2 separate regions of the Homo sapiens genome follow, and region 2 is linked to region 1. Evidence: promoter capture Hi-C in human tissues and cell types (Jung and others, 2019). All regions are on one chromosome and are shown on one strand. Each heading gives the region's core, a stretch centred on a gene start or on the middle of the fragment in contact. The rest is flanking DNA. Distances are from core to core; before and after follow the strand shown.

Evidence for each region. Contacts are between HindIII fragments. The study calls those that stand out against the background at their distance.
Region 2: a fragment that was not itself captured here is called in contact with the fragment with the promoter of FECH in region 1 in 1 of the 25 tissues and cell types used here (aorta).

The regions. Positions count from the first base shown.
Region 1 is chr18:57,585,015-57,588,645 of GRCh38, forward strand. It overlaps FECH (ferrochelatase), which reads right to left and starts at 1,688. Exons shown (of 11, transcript NM_000140.5): 1 at 1,540-1,688. The coding sequence starts at 1,606. RefSeq lists silencers at 1,380-1,429, 1,440-1,499, 1,510-1,869. The HindIII fragment of the contact is 16,879 bases long and covers 1-3,631 here.
Region 2 is chr18:57,841,425-57,845,055 of GRCh38, forward strand. No RefSeq gene overlaps it. Among named protein-coding and RNA genes, the nearest start is that of ATP8B1, 40 kb to the left of the region's middle. The HindIII fragment of the contact is 7,328 bases long and covers 1-3,631 here.

The sequences.
Region 1 (3,631 bases), core at 438-2,937:
AAAAACAAAAGAAACAAAACGTTTAAAGTTTGGAAAGAAAAAGGCACCAAGAAAAAAAATAATTCATATAGATAGCTAAACAGACAGATAATATATGGCCCACCCCCGGAAGCTTCTTATTAATTCTGTAATATGCTAAATACATAAAGTATAAAACTTTGCTTTTCCACTTTTACTTTCAGAACTCATTTTCGGAAATAATCCTCAGTGTTTTCTCACACAGAAGTTGATCTTTTCCTATCAACCAAAATGATGAAGTATTATAACTATGCCTTCAAATCAAAGTCTGTAACACAAATAAGACTCCAAATCTACTTCTGCTAGCGTTTCTGAATCTTTCCACTTTTAACCTAGACTACAAATAATTTAAAGTTTCACATATTGTTCCACGACCTCAAATCTAGGACCTGTCAGACTTTATTTGCCACAGGAAAGGTCAGTGAAAGAAAAGATTAGTTCAATACTTCTTTCAGCCCCACGACTGGCACTGTGCTGCCTCTTCTTAAAAAACAATGCCCTTTGTCCCCCAGCGCCCTTAGTGAGCTAGCCTCATTGTACACTGGGTCCTTAGTATTTTCCTAACAAAGGCACGTCTAATGAGATATGGAGGTTCAGAGGGGATTCCCTCCACTCCAAGTAGGTGTCAGACTGACGAACGTCTTAGAAAAATATGTCCGGTCTGTGTCCAGTCACCGTTCGGATGCATTGAATAAGCATCTTATTCGTGGCAGCCTTCTGCATGAATGGCTAGACATCTTGAGGATGCCTGTGTACTACTGTGTGCCAGGCAAGGTGCTCATGTTCAAGGCAAGCCTTAAAAAAAAAATTAGGATTTCAATGTACATTTACCAAAGCTCTGGCGAGGTTAGGTGCCTTGTTCAAGGTGTCACAGTTGGAAATGCTGTCCCAGCCAGGTGTGTGAGATCCACAGTCCCATCAGCTCATCCTGTGGTCACAACCTATTCACGGTTTGCATCAGAAACGTGGGAGGCTGTTCCTGGGTCTTACAAGTTCCCCAGATATCTCTAGAAAACGCTAGCCCAGGCTGCCCCACGGGGGGTCCCGCTGCTAAGGAGAAGTGGGCACAGAGGGACCAAGGACCATGGGCTTTCCTCAGCAGGGAGGGAACTGCAGGGCAGATGTCCATGGTGGTGATGATGAAGATGCCTTCCTTACTATCCTCTATGGCAGGCCCATAACATACCTTCCCTCGCGTAATCTTCTCAACAGCCTGGTTATTGCAGGTGACAATAACCAAGGCTCTGGGAAATTCCAGCCACTGCTCCAAGCCACCCAGCCGACCGATGGGACTTGAACCTGCGCCTCCTGGATCCGGGCGCCCTCCCCGCGGCCTCCCGAGCCCTGAGTGCTGCCCTCAGCCCTCCCTTCTCCGCGACGCCCCTCGCCCGGTTGCTCGCAGCACCCCCAAGGCCGCTCCCCGAATCCCCCGGGCGCGAGGGCCCGGGCGCCAGCTGCCCGCTCTGCCCACGCCTTCTCAGGGATCCTGGCCCTGGCGGCCGCCGCGACAGACCCACTTACGCGGATCGCGGAGCAGGACGCCCGCGGCGCGCAGGGCCGCAGCCATGTTTGCGCCGAGTGAACGCATTGCCTGGGCAGCCTCGGCCCGAGTCCGGGCTCCTCCCGCGGCGGCGCGCCCAGGTGTCCGCCCAGCAGTGGCCGAGCCGGGTAGCGATCCCCACGCGCGTCCCCAGCCCCCTGACCTCGCGCCCTCCCGGCGCGCCCGCTCATTCGCTGCCGGGCCGGGGCGGGCGAGGCCAGGCAGAGACACGCCCCTCGCGGAGAGCCCGCCCCAGCTGGGCGCCGCTCCCTGCGTGAAAATGGGCCCGGGGGCTGAGCTAGAAGCCCGCTCCCCACCACCATCGCAGGTCACTGCAAAACCTGCTGGACTCCTAGTTGCGTGCCCTGTTTGCATCTGCCAAACTAGCGAAGTCAGGATCCTCAGCCATGACTCAGCAAATAACTTTTTTCGACGTTTCCATTACTATTATTTAGATATAAGGATGCTTTTGCCTCAGTTCTCCAGTTTGCCTGCCTAGTCACAACACAAGTGTGCAGATCCTGTTTTGTTTTGCTTTATTTTCAGAATAGAAAAAGGGATTATTCAGTTTCTCTGCACCCTCTCTGTGTAGCAGAATTTGACAGGTGAAACTCACTGAAGAGCATTAGGAAAAGTGAAGGCCAGCCTGGCAAGTGCATTTCTTGGAGGGACGGTATGATGAGGTTTGTCTGTATCATATCCGCGCACCTTCCCAGTTTAGCCGCCCGTCCCGCCCCCAAGGTCGCACACTGAGATCACTGGGAGGAACAGGCGCCCATTTCATTCCTACACCTCCGTCAGCCCACCCTGCCTATATATGTTCAGTGCATTGTGGAGTAGGAAACCAGCCCTTGGTACAGAAAGGTCTCAGGCATCGGTATTCATTGAACAAATATTGAGCACCTACTATGTGCACTGGGAAAACAGTAGTGAAAAGAGTAGACGGGGGCTTACATGGGGTTAGGGGAGACACAGAAAATAATCACAACATGTAATACTTTGAATGATGGAGCCCTTCCACGGCCTCCCCTCTTCTTTTTCCCTCTCAGGACAAAAGAAGAATGAAGCAAGGTAAAAGAGATGGGGTAGGGTGGGGGAAGGGACTAATGCAATTTGAAGCAGGTGGGTCAGAGTCTCACACATTCGAGCAAAGGCCTTATACACATTTGAGCAAAGGGGGCAAGCCATATGGAACATTCAGGGAAGATGGAGTCTAGATTCAGCTGAAACCCAGTTTTCTGTAGCTTAAATATGTGCTACTGATGGAATTAGTTTATTTCTTATTAAAGTTGGTCCTCCTGATGGTTATAAGCCCAATGCAAAATGTCAAATTAAATGGATAGCCTTTCATATTACCTACATGATCTTCATATCCAAGCGGATGTCCTGAGAAAAGCACAGTAAAACCTGCTCCAGGTATCAACCCACCTTCCTTATATGTGTGGCTATTCTCTACCCTCATAAAAAAATTATAGTCTTCTTAAGTTGCCCTGTAAAGAGGTGATCTTCATGGATAACATACTTCTCTACCTACAGTCTGAACCCATTTTTGTTGTTGTTGTTGTTATTTGTTTGTTTTGTATTTCCAGTAGATACAGAGTTTTGCCATGTTGGCCAGACTGGTCTCGAACTTCTGACCTCAAGTGGTCCACCCACCTCGGCCTCCCAAAGTGCTGGGATTACAGGCGTGAGTCACCATGCGCGGCCTGAGCCCATTTCTTCTAAAGAAACTAAATTGAAAGGCTGCACACCTCGCAATGCTGTGCTGGCAGACATGTAGACAAGGCCAGAGAATAAAATGGCCGGGGGGGTTAGACGTCTGAGCTATGAAGGCTCTTCTTGTCCCCTCTGGGAGGCCCTGGAGAAAGTCATCCCCTCCATCCAGGGTGCTGGGCCCTCCTGCTGGGTAGAGATAAGGGGGCTTCTGGTCCCTCCCAGGCAAACGCTGATGATTAGTGACAAGGCATAAAGGTGCCAAGTCTCACCAGTACAAAATCAATGGCTGGCGTGGGTTAAATTTCTGTCCAGAAATGATTATGGAACTAGCAAGACATACTTTATTAAATATTTTAA
Region 2 (3,631 bases), core at 293-2,792, 260 kb after region 1:
ATAAAGTTTAGAATTTGTCTACCTACTTACCTACCTACCTGTATCTATCATCAAAAGTAATTCAGCACAAATTAAAATAAGGAAGTATTTTTAACTTACAGGTTATAGAATGCATTTCCAATGCCACCAAAGATGCAGAGAACCCTCTGTATTGCTGGAGAAAGTGTGAATTGCTACTACTTTTTGGAAAGCATGTTGACAATATATTATGTCCACAGCCTTTAAAAATGTTCACACCTTTTAATGAGTCATTCTACTTTTAGGCATGTATGATATATTTTGAAAACTTTGTAACAATTGACATCCACTGCAGCCACAGTCTAATGGAGGGAAACGGAAACCCAGTCCACCACCTACACAATCTATTCCAACCCCAATTTACCATAAGGTTTTACTTCTGTTATGACTTTTTGCATGCATTTTTTTTAACACGTTGGCTTTCTTGGGAGGGTAAAGTTTTTTCAAGAACTAAGTGTATTTTCAAGAACCCAGCACATAATAGATGCTCTGAATAAATTTTATTCACCAATTTTATTCACTGGCTTACCACGAGCCAGTCCTGTACAGACATTAATTTATTTCAAGACAACCCTATAAAGTAGGCTTTTCTTTCATATTTTATAGGTGAGGAAACTTGAGGCAGAGAGAGAATAAGTAATTAGCCCAAGGTCATACAGCTAGTAAGAAGTGGGGTAAGGTGGGAAGCCAGGCAACCTCTCCTGAGCTCTAGGCTCTTAACTGCCTCTCCAGTGTGAGCAGACAGTCACAAAATGTGCCAGGACTGCACCAGTTGATATACATGTTAATTAAATAAACATGAACCCAGGACGACACTGATAAATAATCATGAGAAAATTAGAGCATTCTCTTAGTGAAACATTATATAATCATTGACATCATGCTTTCAAAACTTACACATTAGTCTGGATAAATGTTTTTAACACTAAGCAAAAATCAGGAGACAGAAGTGTATGTGCAGCATGGTTATACCTAACACAAAATGACTGGAAAGAAACACATCAAAAGTGTCAAGAAGCTGCAAATCAGATGGGCATTCATTCATCTCTCCTTTTCACTGTTAATTTCCATTTTCCTTTAATCAGCCTATTAGTTTGCTACTGCTGCTGTAACAAAGTTCCACAAACTGGGTGACTTAAAACAACAGAAATTTATTCTCTCACAGGAGCCCAGAAATCTGAAATTGAAGTTTGGATAGGATTGGTTCCTTCTGGAGGCTGTTGGGGAGAATCTGTTCTTGCCTCTCTTAGCTTCTGGTGGTGGCTGTCATCCTTGGGGTTTCCTGGCTTGTAGTTGTGTTCCTGCAATCTCTGCTGCTGTCTTCACACGCCCTTCTTCCCTGAGCATCTTCATATGGCCTTCTTGTAAGGAGTAAGTCATTGGATTTGGGTTCAAATCTAACCCAGTATAACCTCATCTTAACTCATTATTCTGCAAAGATCCTTTCACCAAATAAGGTCACATTCCGAGGTTCTGGGTACACATAAATTTTGAGGGGATACTACTTACCCCAGTATAATGAGCAATTTTTTTCTATTATTTTATATTGGAAAAATGTAAACATTAAGAAAATAGAAGCTTGAGCCTAACTTCTATGAAGTTAGGTGGATGATTAAACAGAATCAGAATAGTTGTAACTAAGTGATGGTACAGCTAAAACACTTTTTCCAACATGGTCACAGACATAAAGCAGCATGGCAGCTTAGTACAAATACTAGATCTAGAAACTTCAGCCTGGGTTAGATTCCTGCCTCCCCACCTGCCTTGTGTGCCTTTGGGTGAAGGGCTCAAACATTCTGAAACTTGTCTTCCACTCCTGTACAGAAAGAAAGCTATGGGTATTTTAGACTTCAACTGTTTCTAGCCAGACAACTGGACCTTCCAAGAGGTCCAGCATAAATCATTTCCATGGGGAAGTAAACTTTTTCCTGTCTTTTTCCTCTCACTGGGGCTGGAGAGATGGGAGAAAGGAGTAAAAAATATTTTAAAGCCTTGCATGTTCCCCTGGGAGGCCAGGGTGCAAGAAGAGCTCATGAATGGATATTTGGCTGAGGTGTGACCTGGAGTGTTTTGCATAATGAAGCAAGGCTGGTTGAGCTGGCAGAGATCCAAGGAAGGGGGCTGGAGGGATGAGGGAGTCTGTAATGGGAGTGAGGAGCAGGAGGTCACAGCCACGTGGCAGAAGCCTTGCAGCCTGTGGAGGAAAGCCCACCTAGGGGTGAAGGTTTGCCAAGAAATTCTCAGGACTGAAGGAGAAGGTGCGCACTGTTCAGCATTAGGCTGTTTGCCCAGGAGTGCCATCGCATTCCCCAGTGTGAGAACGGCCACCTCTTGGTCGTTTTCTCAACCTTTGGTGAACACTTATGACATCGTGGGGAGAGATGGAGAAAAGGACTTTGTGTTCTCATCTGGGGCGTCATGCTGGGGCACCCGAACACAGAACCCATGAGTGAGCCTTGAAGGGGCCAACTGAGCCAGAGGAGGTTGGAAGAGCTGCGCCACTCCTGTCCCACTGCAGGTGGGATAGAGTTCCCGCTAATTTCATTTACATTTGTACCTCAAAGCACGAAGTGGTTTAGCTGACTTCTGCTCTTCATGAAGGGCCCAGCTCACATCCTTTAGTAATAATTCAAACATTCTGACTTGCACTGGGCAGCATGTTTATCATAAATGCAAGGACTGCTACTTTGGTGTAGGAAATTATTTAAACGTGTAAACTCTCATATACCAATTTGCAAATCAAACTCTTTTCAAGGCTTTATTTCAATGTCGTTGTTAGCTTTTTTGACTTTTCTCATTTTCCCACTAGTTTGCTTGATTGCACATTATAGAAAATTCACCATTCTCATTCATTCTGATCCCACATTTAGACTTCTCTTTCAAGGACTTGAAAGAATTTATAAATATTTGCAATACAGGATGCAAATTAATCCTTATACACACTTGGAAGGTACCCTGCAATATCTTTCCCCATCTATCACTCACCCACTGTTTATTGCCCTCTGAACAATGTCCAGCCTAGTTCCTTTCTTATTTCGTTACATACATAAAATTGCTTCCCATCCACAATCTCTCCTTAGAAATGCTGCCCTTTGGCCGGGCACGATGGCTCATGCCTGTAATCCCTGTGCTTTGGGAGGCCAAGTAGGGCCGATCACCTGAGTTCAGGAGTTCGAGACCAGCCTGACCAACATAGAGAAACCCCATCTCTACAAAAAATACAAAATTACCCAGGCATGGTGGCGCATGCCTGTAATCCCAGCTACTCGGGAGGCTGAGGCAGGGGAATCACTTGAAACCAGGAGGCAGAGGTTGTGGTGAGCCGAGATCGTGCCATTGTACTCCAGCCTGGGAAACAAGAGTGAAACTCCATCTCAAAAAAAAAAAAGAAAAAGAAAAAGAAAAAAAAAGAAATGCCGCCCTTCCCACAGCTACCCTACTTACCACGTTACTGCAGACTGCACCACCAGTGAATGTGACCCAAGTTGCAGTAAATGAAATATCTCCCAGAAATTTGGAGTTGGGACATAGGGACTGAGCAACTTATCATCTCTGAAGGACCAGACTGGAGAGAAAGGGGAGAGAGACAGAGAGAGAGAGAGAGAGAGAGAGA